Regions from separate parts of the Homo sapiens genome. Here region 2 is linked to region 1. Evidence: promoter capture Hi-C in human tissues and cell types (Jung and others, 2019). All regions are on one chromosome and are shown on one strand. Each heading gives the region's core, a stretch centred on a gene start or on the middle of the fragment in contact. The rest is flanking DNA. Distances are from core to core; before and after follow the strand shown. Region 1 holds the start of SETD2 (SET domain containing 2, histone lysine methyltransferase). Region 2 overlaps SETD2 (SET domain containing 2, histone lysine methyltransferase).

What was found. The method cuts DNA at HindIII sites, captures the fragments that hold promoters and counts their contacts. A contact is called where the count stands out against the background at its distance.
Region 2: a fragment that was not itself captured here is called in contact with the fragment with the promoter of SETD2 in region 1 in 2 of the 25 tissues and cell types used here (aorta and psoas muscle).

Annotation. Positions count from the first base shown.
Region 1 is chr3:47,161,676-47,168,964 of GRCh38, forward strand. It overlaps SETD2 (SET domain containing 2, histone lysine methyltransferase), which reads right to left and starts at 2,438. Exons shown (of 21, transcript NM_014159.7): 1 at 2,179-2,438. The coding sequence starts at 2,249. It overlaps KIF9-AS1 (KIF9 antisense RNA 1), which reads left to right and starts at 2,695. Exons shown (of 7, transcript NR_033373.1): 1 at 2,695-2,922. RefSeq lists silencers at 1,731-2,040, 2,091-2,840, 2,891-2,940. The HindIII fragment of the contact is 7,701 bases long and covers 1-6,164 here.
Region 2 is chr3:47,110,554-47,117,794 of GRCh38, forward strand. SETD2 (SET domain containing 2, histone lysine methyltransferase) reads right to left here. Exons shown (of 21, transcript NM_014159.7): 4 at 6,070-6,201; 5 at 3,323-3,451. Among named protein-coding and RNA genes, the nearest start is that of SETD2, 50 kb to the right of the region's middle. RefSeq lists enhancers at 3,157-3,664, 3,665-4,173. The HindIII fragment of the contact is 3,414 bases long and covers 1,194-4,607 here.

The DNA.
Region 1 (7,289 bases), core at 1,188-3,687:
CTGCAATCCCAGCACTTTGGGAGGCCAAGGCAGGAGGCTCACTTGAGGCCAGGGATTCAAAACCAGTAACGTAATTTATTTTTTTTTAATTAGCTGGGTGTGGTGACACATGCCTATAGTCCCAACCCAGGAGGCTGAGGCAGGAGGACTGCTTAAGCCCAGAGGTTCAAGGATGCAATGAGCCATGATGACACCACTGCACTCCAGCCTGGGTGACAGAGTGGGACCCTGCCTCTAAAAAAAAAAAAAAGGAAAAAATACACGAGAATTTAAAAATATATAATCACTGTTAGAAATCCAAAGCAGTGGATTTCTACTACATTAAAGCAATAAAAATAAAAACTCCAAAACATGTAAAACCATAAAACATTCTTGATTCCTTCCCCACTCAGGTCTACCAAAGATGCACTTCTGAGTCCATTTTCCCACATATTATGAAAAATTGTTTTTCCCCAAGAAGTGTAAGGATGTGATCCTTAAAGCTTCCGGACTTCACCAAACAACCTGGTAAAAGGAAGTGAAAGCAGGCACTTAGCCTATTCAGGGGTTAGCATGTTACTTTGTACAGAGCAAGTGCTATATAAGCATTTATTGAATCGTGATATAAAATTTTTTTTGAGGTTTTTCAAACTAAAAACCTATAACATGAGCTTTGTAATTGGACTGATGGTGCAGTAAATCAAAACAATCTTACCTAACTGACCCTGCCAGTAGCAAAACAAAAAGACCAATCTAATTAAGGTAATGTTAACCAATGGCCAAGAACCCATGAAAGGAAAAAGCCATGTTAACTTACTATTGCAAGTAAGAGTTGGGTTTTTAGAAAAGCAAAATAATGATTTATCTTGTTGTGCAGAAATGACCAACACCTCAACAGAATCCGTTTGTGTTGCAATCAAAACTATCAATTAAGATCCAGACATTTCTGGACCAATGTGAGAAGATGTGGCAAGGGATTCAAAAACGAGCCAGAGCAAACCTAAGGTAAAATGTGTCAAAACAGCAAAGCTCTTGGAATCATCCTGGTCATAAAAGTTTGACAGTTTCATGTGAAACCCCTATCAACCGATAAGTTTTAAATCAATAGTATATTCCTAGGTCTAACACCAGCAAACGGTGTTTAAGAACGGCTTTTCAAAACAATGGTCTCGTGAGGGTTCAGGGAAAGAAGTGACTCCAGGCTTTCTGAGATAGCAGATACAGCAGCAGATTCAGACCTCAAGAGAAATGTAAAGGTGTCCTAGACTGAAAAATTACTATTGGGCAAAACTGTGTGTCGGTTTTCCACAACATTGTCTTCTTTAGAGAATCCTCAAACGATTCTTGGTTTTTAACCAAGTCTTCACAAGAAATAGAAAGTCATCCGTTTAGGGTAAGAGATTCCTGTTACCAAGAAAATTGTGTCCGAAAGTGTGAAAATCTCACAACCTGCAAGAAAATGTATGTCCCTCAGGAGGCTTTCATTTTCAAGCGGAAAAACAAACCCGGTGTCACCTCAACAACGGGACCACACAAACCTCGCCATTACAAAACCCAAGTGCCAAAGGTGCACAATGTGAATCCGGAAGCACTGCAAGGCCAGGATCGAGTTCCCAGGAGGAAAAAATCAAACTCAGGAGTGCAGCGCGGGCCCCTCCACGGCCCGGGGGCCAGGCAACCCGCGCTAGGCCCTTCCGGTCCGAGGCGCCGCCGTCGCGGGGAGGTCGGGCGACGGGTCGAGCTTCCACCCGAGCCCGGGGATTCGCGGCCTACCCTCACCGGCGCCCTCTTGCCGGGCCCGGCACCGGCAGCTCCTCCGACTCTGCCCTTTGGCTAGCAGCGGGGCCCGGACGAGCCACGAGGAGCCCGAGAGGACCGCCGAGCCCCGGGATGGCCGGGTCGGTGCGGACACGGCGGTAACCGTAGGGACCGTGGCCGCCCCTCCCCCACCGGCCCGGCCCAACCGCCGCCGCGACACGAGCAGCGGCGCCAACGCCGGGCCCAACCGCGGGCCTGCTGCGGCCCCGGCCAAGCGGCTCGAAGTGGCGGCGCGGGCCTGCTCCCGACACCGACCGCGCGAGGCCACCGTGGGCCTGTTACTCCTCGCGCCGGCCCGCGCCGCCACCCGTCAGGACGCGCCGCCCTCGGCTGGGGATAAGGCGGCCGACAGCAGCGGGGGGCCGCGGAGCTGATACTTACTCAGGGGTCGGGTGCTCCGGGTCGTAGAAATCCCCCATCTTCGGAGGCGGCTGCGGCTGCAGCTGCTTCATCGGGAGCGGCTGGAGACGGCGACGCGAGCCCCCTCCCCGCAGCAGGGCGACGCGGGGGAGGGGAGGGGAGGAGGCCGCAGGTCCGACCGCGGCGGCGGCGGCGGCGGCGGCGGCGGCGGCAGGGGCGGCCCGCGTCGCTACCTCGCTCGTCGCTCCCTCCCTCCCTCGGACGCCCGCCAGCCGCTCTCTCCCTCTCACCCTCACACCGGGAGCGACGCACACCCCACCCGCCCCTCAGCTTCGCAGGCCCGGCCCCTTAAAGAGACACACACGGGCCACCGATCTGCCGCCAGTCGGCGTGCCTTGCAGCTGTTGGCTTGACCCCAGGCCGGGACGGGCAGAGCGGAACACTGCCCGGCGGGTCCAGGCCGACCGTGCCTGTGGCTCTCCGGAACAATAAACCCCCGGCCCCAGTGATGTGGGCCAGACCGGACCTGGAGAGGCGGCACCGCGACCCCTCCCGCAACCCGCCTGGCGGCCGGGGGCAGCGTGACCCGGCCCGCTACCGTGTCACAGCTGGCGACTGACAAACAGCAGGCGACGTCGGGAGAACTCCCCGAGACACCCGAGACATCAGCCTTCTCGCTCCGCGGCCCTGCAGGACCTGCCCGCCGGGAGCCCCGGAGTCCGCGGCAGCGCCGAGGGCCCCTCCCCCAGGCCTCTGGGCTCTGAGGTAACGCGGCCGCGGCTGCTCCCGGGCCCCTCGTCCCACTCGCCCCTCTCTTTTTTATTTTTCCTCGCCCTCTCTCTCCCTTGCCCGTTCATCTCGACCCTTTAGCAAGCATGGAAGCCCAGCGAGGCGGGGGATTGCTCGGAGGCCGAGCTCCCGGCAGCCTCCTCCGCCTTCCTTCCCGCTGTGCCCTCGGGGCTCCTACCTCCACCTCGGCGCGGCGCTCTGCCCCCACCCGAAGTCTCCAAGGCGGCAGCTCCCCTCTCCTGTGTGGTTCTTGGGGCCTTAGAGGCAATGTCATGAAAAAAAGGGTATTAATCACTTTCCTACAGAAATGATAAGATGAGACTAAGTAGAATAACTTGAAAGAGCTACGAGTTGTTATTTTTGGAAGGAGAGATAGGAACGCGTAAATCCAATAGCTAAACTTTCTAGACGCTGAAGAGTTTTTGGCGATAGATCATTTTGACATTGGGGGTTCATAGGGTTAGCGTTTTTTGTGTTGTTGTTGCTGTTGTTTTTCCACTAGAATTTTGAATCGGATTTTACCAGCAATTGGTAACGGAAAGGAAAGGATGTGTCTTCCAATTGAGAAACAGTGGTTAAAAACTGAAAGTGGGCCGGGCGCGGTGGTTCACGCCTGTAATCCCAGCACTTTAGGAGGCCGAGGCGGGCGGAGTAACTGAGGTCAAGAGTTCCAGACCACACTGGCCAACATGGCGAAACCCCATCTCTACTAAAAATACAAAATTTAGCCGGGCGTGGTGGCGCACGGCTGTAATTCCAGGTACGCGGGAGGCTGAAGCAGGAGAATCGCTTGAACCCAGGAGGCGGAGGTTGCAGTAAGCCCAGATTGTGCCACTGCACTCCAGCCTGGCGACAGAGCAAGACTCCATCTCAAAAAAATAAATAAATGAATGAAAATAAAAAATAAATTAGCTGGGCGTGGTGGTGCGCCTGTAATCCCAGCTACTCGGGAGGCTGAGGCAGGAGAATCGCTTGAACCCAGGAGGCGGAGGTTGTAGTGAGCCCAGATCGCACCATTGCACTCCAGCCTGGGCGATATAGCGAGACTCCGTCTCAAAAAAATAAAACAACAACAACAAAAAAAAACTGAAATATGATACGAAAGAATAAACATCCTTCAGTGGTTAACTTTTTAAAATAGCCTTTATATGTATGTAGGCTACAGTGTCTATTAGTGTTTTATAATCATTGTTTTTCACTTAGGGATTATTTTGGCTTTTGTTTTTTTTTTTCCTGGTACCTTTAGGGTTAGCATGGAGGTCCAGGGTCCATCTGACTCCCTAGGTTCGAATCTCCCAAGGCCATTTTTTTACACACCGTGATTATTACTAATTTCCCTGTGGTTTTTCTCATTATAAAATGAGAATATTGCTGCCGACAGGTCTTCTCATTATTGTGAGGATTAAATGAGCTATTTGTTAAAGGCTTAAACTTTCAGTAAACGTCAGCATTCTTCAGCCATGATAGTGCAGAGTTTAAGAGGTAGCTCTACCTGGCATTGTGTACCAGGCACTTTCTAGCCCTGTGACATTGGGATGCTTGCTTCTTATGCTTCCCGTGCCTCACCTGTAAATGGGGTATTAGCCACTGTGCAGAGAATGTTGTGAACATGCTTGCACAGTGCCTTTCATTGAGTAAGTGCCCAGTAAGTGTTATCTTTTGGGCTTTGAAAGAATAGATTGAGGCCCTGTGCCTTAGATGCCACATAGGCAATTGGGAGTCACTTGACCTTGGACAGGCAGGAAAGGACAATTTTAGGTGGAGGTGGTTGAAACAATGTGAGGTGGTAAGGACCTAAGCTGAGGTGAATGAGAAAAAAGCAGTCAGGTGCAGGTTTCCTATTTCCTTAATAAGAAAGTAAGCAATTCTCTTGCAGGAGGTACAGCTGGGCACTGGAATGCCTGGTCTCATGATAGCATTGGTTTGGTCAGAACCCAGTGCAATAAGCTTGTCAAGCCATGGGAATCAGTGAGAATTCTAAGCCCCAAACAGAAACAAATGAACTGGGTTTTTACAGGCAGTGCCTTCATCTATAACTGCACTCAGAGTTCTTTGGACTCATATTTTTAAGTCAAAGAGAATGCATGCTTGGAGCACGTACTTGGGCCTGGCCTCCTGATCAAAGCTGTGGAATAATTTGGTTTTTCATGTTATTAAATACTGACCATCCCCTACTTTCTGCACATGTTTAAAGGAAAAATGTCTAAAAAGCCCTAGCATGAAATATTTGAGGCATTCACTCCCAGAGTGCTAAAATCGTAAAAGCCTTTATAATTTCAGCTGGGTGTGATGGGATCATGCCTGTAATCCCATCACTTTGGGAGGCTGAGGCAGGTGGGTCACCTGAGGCTGGGAGTTCAAGACCAGCCTAACCAACATGGAGAAACCCGGTCTCTACTAAAAATACAAAAATTAGCCCGGCGTGGTGGCACATGTCTAATACCAGCTACTAGGGAGGCTGAGGCAGGAGAATCACTTGAACCTGGGAGGCGGAGGTTGCAGTGAGCCGAGATCATGCCATTCCACACCAGCCTGGGCAACAAGAGCGAAACTCATCTCAAAAAAATATATATATATTTATACTTTCTCCTACTGTTACTGTCTCCTGTGGGTCAAGACCAACCCTATCCCAGGAGATTCCAGGGTTGCCAGTAGTGACCCTGAAACAAAATCATCTCTTGCCTTAGGGAAGACAAAGGCCAAAAGCCTACTCTCCACAGGTAGGCTTCGGGTACCTGGTAAGGGTAGTAGAAAGAAGAAATGTAGACCGGGTGCGGTGGCTGACGCCTGTAATCCCAGTACTTTGAGAGGCCAAGGCAGGCGAATCACCTGAAGTCAGGAGTTCGAGACCAGTCTGACCAACATGGAGAAACCTGGTCTCTACTAAAAATACAAAATTAGCCGGATGTGGTGGCACATGCCTGTAATCCCAGCTACTCTGGAGGATGAGGCAGAAGAATCGCTTGAACTCTGGGAGGCGGAGGTTGCGATGATGAGCTAAGATCGCGCCACTGCACCCCAGCCTAGGCAACAACAGCAAAACTCCATCTCAAAAAAAAAAAGAAATGTAGGTCGGGCACAGTGGCTCATGCCTATAATCCCAGCACTTTGGGAGGCCGAGGAAGGCAGATCACTTGAGGTCAGGAGTTCAAGACCAGCCTGGCCAATACGGTGAAACCCCATCTCTACTAAAAATACAAAAATTAGCTAGGCATGGTGGCGCACGCCTATAATCCCAGCTACTCGGGAGGCTGAGGCAGGAGAATTGCTTGAGCCCGGGGTGGGGGGTGGAAGTTGCAGTGAACAGAGATCGCATCACTGCACTCCAGCCTGGGCAACAAGAGTGAGACTCAGTCTCAAACAAAAAAAATGAATAAAATAAATAAATATGTATTTTCTCCTCTGTAGCACAGAAACATTTACTATCAACATCTTAGCATTTTGGGGAGCGGGAAATGAGATAATGTCTGACAAAGTACCTAATGCCTGTAAACTAATAGCCATACAACAAAAAATTGGCTACCTTATAAATTTAGGTAGATATATGAGGCTCAATACAATTGAAGATTTAGATTTAGTCAGTATACAGAATAAAGGCAGCATAATTTAGAATAAATTACTCATTCACATAAGTTTTGTTATATTGTTATAACTGTTTTATTAACTACTGTTAATCTCTTAGTGTGCCTAATTTATAAATTAAACATCATAAGTATGTATGTATAGGAAAAAACAAAGTATATTTAGGGTTCCAGGCATCCACCAGGGGTCTTGGGACCTATCCCTTGTAGATAAGGTGGGGACTACTGTAATTACAACTTTTTTTTTTTTTTTTTTTTTTTTTTTTTGAGATGGAGTCTCGCTCTGTCGCCCAGGCTGGAGTGCAGTGGTGCGATCTCAGCTCACTGCAAGCTCCGCCTCCCGGGTTCATGCCATTCTCCTGCCTCAGCCTCCCAAGTAGCTGGGACCACAGGCACCCGCCACCATGCCCGGCTAATTTTTTGGATATTTAGTAGAGATGGGGTTTCACCGTGTTAGCCAGGATGGTCTCGATCTCCTGACCTTGTGACCCACCCACCTTGGCGTCCCAAAGTACTGGGATTACAGGCATGAGCTACCGCACCCAGCCTAATTACAACTTATTTTTATTCCTATTCATTCTGCACATCCCAACACAAGGCAAGAAGAATCTAGAAAACAATGCACAACCTACATTGAGCTCCACCTCCTATAATTCCTATTAGATGTTATTTGTATCAAGTCAGCACCCTCCTACATAGTATTATTATACTCTGTAGTTGTTTTTCCTATACAGATAATCTTTCTGTTACATATTGCTTTGT
Region 2 (7,241 bases), core at 1,651-4,150, 51 kb before region 1:
TGGGGTCTGCCATGGCACTTTAACACTAACTAGTAACTTAGCTCCAAATAATTTCTCATCCTGTGTAGCTCTGACAATCTGTCCTTATTAAATGGTAATACTCTACCAGTAAACAACGCAAGAGTTTTGACTAGTTTATGAAATTCATAAACTATTGGTATTACACATCATCATGTGGCAGTTATAGGAGTAGGAAGGTATGGGAAACATGGAAACATTAAGTCCTAGTATATTTTACCAAAGCAGGGTTCTCTGTGAATAGCTGAAGAAAACGGAAGAGCTTTAGGAAATTTTAACCTGGCTTATAAACTGGAGCCATATATCCTTTCCTCCCTTCCCCAGTCTCCTTTCCCCTTAATATGAGAAGAGCACTGAGCTATCAAAGAGTGTCTGTTGCAAGTAACAGAATTTAGATCAGGTTTGAAGCTATGTGTTTTACTGCAGATACCACAAAAGACCAGCATCCAGACAGCTCATCCACTATTGTCCCTGTAAGAGAGGCTTGTGTCCAAACTGTGGTTCCTTTAAAAAAAAAAAAAAAAAAAAAAAAAAAAAAAATCTCAAGAAGGCCTGGCTGGCTAGGGCAGAATGAAAGAAGGCATCTTTGAAAATGTGCGTCTGGACTAGAACTAGTGATTTTGGAAATTCAATGGGCTGCTTTGAGAGGTATTGAGTTCTGTATCAACAGTGTTCAAAGGAAGTGTAACCAATTATTTGTTTAAAATATTATAAAGAATCCAATGAATGGATATGGGGCATATGACAATTCTGTGGGATATTTGCTTCAAATAAACAATTAAAAACCAGTTATGAGAAGCCTAGGCAACATAGTGAGGACCCCATCTCTACAAAAAATAGAAAAATAAAGTAGCTGGGCATACTGGCTCACACTTATAGTCTCAGCTACTCAGAAGGCTGAGGCAGGAGGATAAATTGAGCCTGGGAGGTCGACACTGCAGTGAGCTATGATTGCGCCAGGATACTCCAGCGAGGGTGACAGGGCAAGACCCTGTCTCAAAAAAATAAAAAACAATAAAAACCAGTTATGAGCCAGGGTGTGTTTTTACAAAACTTAGAGGAGAAGAGAAATCTATGAGGTTCCTACTAGCCCCCTTTTTGTGTAACAAAACATGTTGCTTTCTGATTGGTTCCCAAAAGGATAGATTAATATCAACATCATTTCTTATCTTCAAAGGAAAAAAAAAAAAAGAACAATTTGCTTATCAAAAGATATATGAGGATTCCTGTCATAAAACTAAATTATTGCCAAGGGGAAAACAGTGAGAAAAAAAAATTATTGTCTTTATTACCTGTGTTTTGAATTCCCACAATAAACAGATTAAACCCCACCAAGTCCTGCCCCAACTCCAACTCCCATCCAACTGTGGCCATATGCTCAGAGGGTTCTGAAAGAATAGTTATGTCTAAGTTACTAGAATCCAGCAAATGTTTTATTTCCTTCCATTTTTTCTTTTATATATTTTTTAAATGTTTCAACCATAAACACATGTAATCTGTTTATATTTAACTTCAAAGAGGCACTTGACCTTCATTAAGAATACTTTTTTTTTTTTTTTTTGGAGACAGTCTCGCTCTGTCCCCCAGGCTGGAATGCAGTGCCATGATCTCGGCTCACTGCAACCTCCTCCTCGTGGGTTCAAGCAAATTCTTCTGCCTCAGCCTCCCGAGTAGCTGGGATTACAGCTGTGCGCCATCATGCCTGGCTAATTTTTGTTTTGTTTTTTGAGACAGAGTTTCACTCTTGTCACCCAGGATGGAGTACAATGGCGCAATCTCGGCTCACTGCAACCTTCGCTTCCCCGGTTCAAGAGATTCTCCTGCCTCAGCCCCTCAAGTAACTGGGATTATTGGTGCCTGCCACCACATCCAGCTAATTTTTGTATTTTTAGTAGTGACAGGGTTTCACCACATTGGCCAGGCTGGTCTTGAACTCCTGACCTCAGGTGATCTGCCCACCTCGGCCTCCCAAAGTGCTGGGATTACAGGCGTGAACCACCACGTCCAGCGTAATTTTGGGTTTTTTGTTTGTTTTCGAGATGGAGTCTTGCTCTGTCTCCCAGGCTAGAGGGCAGTGGCATGATCTCGGCTCACTGCAACCTCCACCTCCCAAGTTCAAGCGATTCTCCTACCTCAGCCTCCCAGGTAGCTGGGATTATAGGCGTGCGCCACCACACCCATCTAATTTTTGTATTTTTAGTAGAGACGGGGTTTCGCCATGTTGGCCAGGCTGGTCTCGAACTCCCGACTTCAGGTGATCCACTCACCTTGGCTTCCCAAAGTGCTGGGATTACAAGCATGAGTCACCATGCCCGGCCAAGAATACTTTAAATATGCTATATATAAGAAAATTAAACATTTCCAGGAAATACTGAATATGGTAGAAAATAAAGTGAACCTTTTGCTGTATTACATTAAAAACTTACATCAGTTACATGGAAAGCAACATTTATTCATTCAAGAAATGTTTAATGATTATCTATCAAGTATGTTTTAATTCTTAACCTTGATATGCTCAGGTATTCTCTTCTACTCTTTTTTTTTTTCTTTAAGAGACAAGAGATCACTGCCATCCAGGCTAGAATGCAGTGGCGTGATCACAGCTCACTGTAACCTTGAACTCCCAGGCTCAAGCAGTCCTCCCACTTAGCTTCCCATAGCGCTGAGATTACAAGCATGAGCCACTGCACCTGGCCTTCTCTTCTACTCTTATCCCAACTCAATTTTATGTATACTAATGGATTCTGTCCCAACTTCTTTTTATATAGCTTCATAGAGATTCTGGGGGTCCACAGTAAACACTTGGTAGTTGCTTGGAATTAAAGAAAACATAATTACCAAAAAAGAAAAAAAGATTTTTTAACAACAAACTAGCTACCAAGTGGTCATTCTACATAATAATCATCATTAAACCTCAGTGTAATAAAGAAATTGTTTCCCTACAAAAACATCTAAGTTCAACAACACAAAAATGAAGTGAAGCCCAGGCGCGACGGCTCACACCTGTAATCCCAGCACTTTGGGATGCCAAGGTGGGCGGAAAACTTGCGGTCAGAGTTCGAAACCAGCCTGGCCAACATGGTGAAACAACGTCTCTACCAAAAAAATACAAAAAAAATTAGCTGGGCATGGTGGCATGAGCCTGTAGTTCCAGCTACTTGAGAGGCTAAGGCAGGAGAATTGCTTGAATCCGGGAGGTAGAGGTTCCAGTGAGCCAAGATCGTGCCACTGCACTCCAGTCTGGGTGAAAGAGTGAGACCTTGTCTCAAAAAAGGAAGTGAAAGGTAATTAAAAAAGAACTTACGAAGGAAGGTCTTTGGCAGCTCTCAAGCCCCAGCCTTTCTTTTCTGTGAGTATGACTTCCACATCTGCATGCTGTTTTCTCTGAAACCGTCTATTGGAACAATAATCCCCATTTGGACACCGAGAAGAACTGAAATGAGAAAAGGAGGAAATTTAATTCTTTAAAGCAGCAAAAGAACCAAAGTAACTTTGAAAAAATGTGTTAGTATAACTACATATATACATACTTTTATGGTATAATTAGCATATGTATGACTAACCCCCAACTAAGTCTTCCTTTCCTTCCATCACAAAGGGATTCCTTAGAACTGAGTATCTACATTGTTACTTAAACAGATCATACCCACAATACAGCCTTGATATCTGGTCATCACAGAAATATCTACCACTCCCTAGGTGTCTAGAATACATTTTCAGGCTGCATGTAAGCTTTCAGTACATTGACAACTCTGCAGAACTTATATTCTGTAAGTGCACCTTCCCTTCCTTCTACTCTAATCACTTTTAATTTCATTTTTTGAATGCAGCTAACTACTTGATCTACAATTGAGAAAATCTAAAGTCATTATTAAATATATCCTTGTTCAGAGTAAACAGAATAACATGGCATGGCTCTTCTCCCATGGATCCTAGAGTAAAAATGATAAAATCGAACACTGATTGACTTCTTAATATGTGATAGATATAAAGGTTTTAACGATGATTAAAACTACACCAGAGGGGGCTGAGTACGGTGATTCATGCCTGTAATCCCAGCACTTTGGGAGGCCAAGGCAGGTGGATCACTTGAGGTCAGGAATTCAAGACCACCCTCGCCAACATAGTGAAATCCTGTCTCTCTGAAAAATACAAAAATTAGCCGGGCATGATGGTGCACGCCTGTAATCCCAGCTACTTGGGAGGCTGAGGCAGGAGAATTGTTTGAACCCAGGAGGCAGAGGTTGTAGTGAGTCAAGATTGTGCCACTGCACTCTAGCCTGGGCGACAGAGGGAGACTGTCTCAAAAAAAAAAAAAAAAAAAAAAGACCACTGGAAATTACCAATCATTTTGAATATATTATTATTTATTGCCCACCCAGCAGCAAATAACATTTTTAGCAATGGTCAAAGGATGAAGGATTTGCTCTAGAGTGAGGCAGTATAAAGGAAAGCTTTCAGGAGGGAAGAGAATTTAAGGCAGAATCTCTAATGATACATAGGATATGCATAAAGAAAGCTGGAGATACAACTGTCCCTGTCTGTGTGCAGAAATAGGAAAACAATCCCTGTTTGGACAAAGAGAAATGAAACAACTAAAGATAACTGATAAGAAAGGTGAGTTGCTGGAGGATGAAAAGACAGGCTGATGATATGCTACCAAGGGCTCTGAATACAAGGCTAAGTTTGAACCTAATCATGAGAACAACCGAGAACTACCAAAAGCTTAAGTGTGTGAATAATATGAAGAAATATTTTTCTTCATGTATGCTTCACAAGGTTGGCAGGAAAACCCAGAAGAATGACTAGGGCAACAATATGAAGTTAGAATAATGCTAACTCTATGTCTTCTCTTCTTACATCTGTACTGTCATCTCTCTCTCTAGTTTGGATAAAAGAATACCAAAAATCCTTTCTCTTTATTTTTTCAAGGTATATATATTTTATTTTTGCAACACTATAACATGAGCAAAACCAAAAACTGAGCTTTGGGGAAAAAAAACCTTCACTAACATCAAAAATAAGGTATACTCTTTCCATGTAAAAGACAAGAATATATTTTTCATCAATCAGATTGGTTAAAAAAATTTTTTTGAGACAACATCTCGCTCTGTCACCCAGGCTGGAGTATAGTGGAATGACAGCTCACTGCAAGCTCCACCTCCTGGGTTCAAGTGCTTCTCCTGCCTCAGCCTCCAGAGTAGCTGGGATTACAGGTGTGTGTCATCATGCCTGGCTAATTTTTGTATTTTTTAGTAGAGATGGGGTTTCACCATGTTGGCCAGGCTGATCCTAAACTCCTGGCCTCAAGTGATCTGCCCGCCTCAGCCTCCCAAATAGCTGGGATTACAGGCATGAGCCACTACGCCTGGCCAAAATTAAATTTTTTAATGTAAAGATATTTACTATTTATAAGAACAATACAGAAGCAAATGTCTGTCAACAGACTAATTACCGGCTAACTATGAATAGAATACATAATGCAGTCAAGAGAAAGATTTAGGCAGGTCTGTACACAGAGCTCTGATTAGGTCTGATTAGCAAATCCAAGCAAGTATATAGAATAAGATTTTATCTGTATACATAAAAAGAGGAAAACATCTACCTATGCTAGCATAGGCATTAAAAGTTTTCTGGAAAAATGACAAAACAATGGGACTGATGTTTGGGAGAAGACATTCACTTTATGCATTTCTGAAATGTTAGGGTTTTATTTCACTTTATAGTGAAAGCTAAAAAATACCAACATTTACCTCTAGGACATAAATATTATAAAAGATAAAAAAGTACTGAATAGAAATTAATATTATAGGACTACTTTACCAAGCACTTAAAACATGGTGGGTACTGTAATCTAATGCACAATGCAAGGGATATTTGTTTCCCTATTAATATGTTTTCTACTATACATCAAAGTGTCTACTATACTTTTTTGCTTGTAGTCATCCATAGGTAGGAGAAAGGTTAAATTTTATTCTTCATTGATAATTCAATATTTAGAGACATTTAATAGAAGTGTTGAGCAAAAGCCGAGTATTCTAATTTACTTACCATTCAATCATGAGAAGACGATTAAGACAATCTTCCCCACATGCTATTTCACCTTGAGCTCTTTCATCTTTAGAAAGAGGTGTACACTCACACTGCATTCGCTTAATATCTCGATGAGATTTATTCTTCTTTCTATTGGGTAAAATTTCATAAAAACTGATTAAATAAATTTCCTGGTAAAGATATAACATATATAATCAAATATGTGCCAAATCTCATTAGATTCTTTTGGGTTTTTTTAAACAGGGTCTTGTTCTGTCACCCAGGCCAGGGTGCAGTGATGCGATCATGGCTCACTGCAGCCTCAACCTCCTGGATTCAAATGACCCTCCCACTTCCACCTCCTGAATAGCTGGGACCACAGCTCATGCCACCACGCTTGGTTTTTGTTATTGTTGTTGTTTGTTTGTTCTTTAATATTCTGTAGAGACAGGGTCTCTCTATGTTACTCAAGCTGGTCTTGAACTCCTGGGCTCAAGAAATTCCCCTGCCTCCACTTCCCAAAGTGCTGCAATCGCAGGCATGATCCACTACGCCTGGCTAGATTCACATTTAATGATTCCTGTAAGTCAACCATTCAAAATAAAACATCTAATTATTAGTACTTGTGAGACTGAAAATCCTAAGACCTGCATTACCAAAAAAAAAAAAAAAAAAACAAACAAAAAAAAAAACATGAGAAGGGCAACCTTAACCTTGGCAAATGGGGAAGATGAGATGAGTTCAAGACTACTCATTCTGGAACTCAGCCCTTATTTCCTACTCCAGGTCAGCTAAGCCTTGGATTCAGAACAGTTTCAAGTGTTAAAGTCATACTAGGTTCTAGGAAAAATAGGAAAACTCATGCATTTCAAATAGTGACATAGCTGGTTAAAGTTAAGTTTAAGAATCAGACCTCATGGATGAGCAAATAATAGTTGAGATATAAGATTGAGGGAGAAAAGGGGTTTCTAAAAAAATAAGAGTGAGTTCTAACTCAATCCAATATTTTAGAGAATCTTTCAGTAACATCACATCTGCATAAATTTTGTTTAAAAGCAGACTGAATTTTTTAAATGAAGTGTAATTACAGAATAATCAGGTAAATGTTTAAGAGGGCTCAACTTTCTCCATGCAGACAGATTTATTTTGGAGAAGAACATAAACTGCTAAAATTTGATTGCGTTCATAAT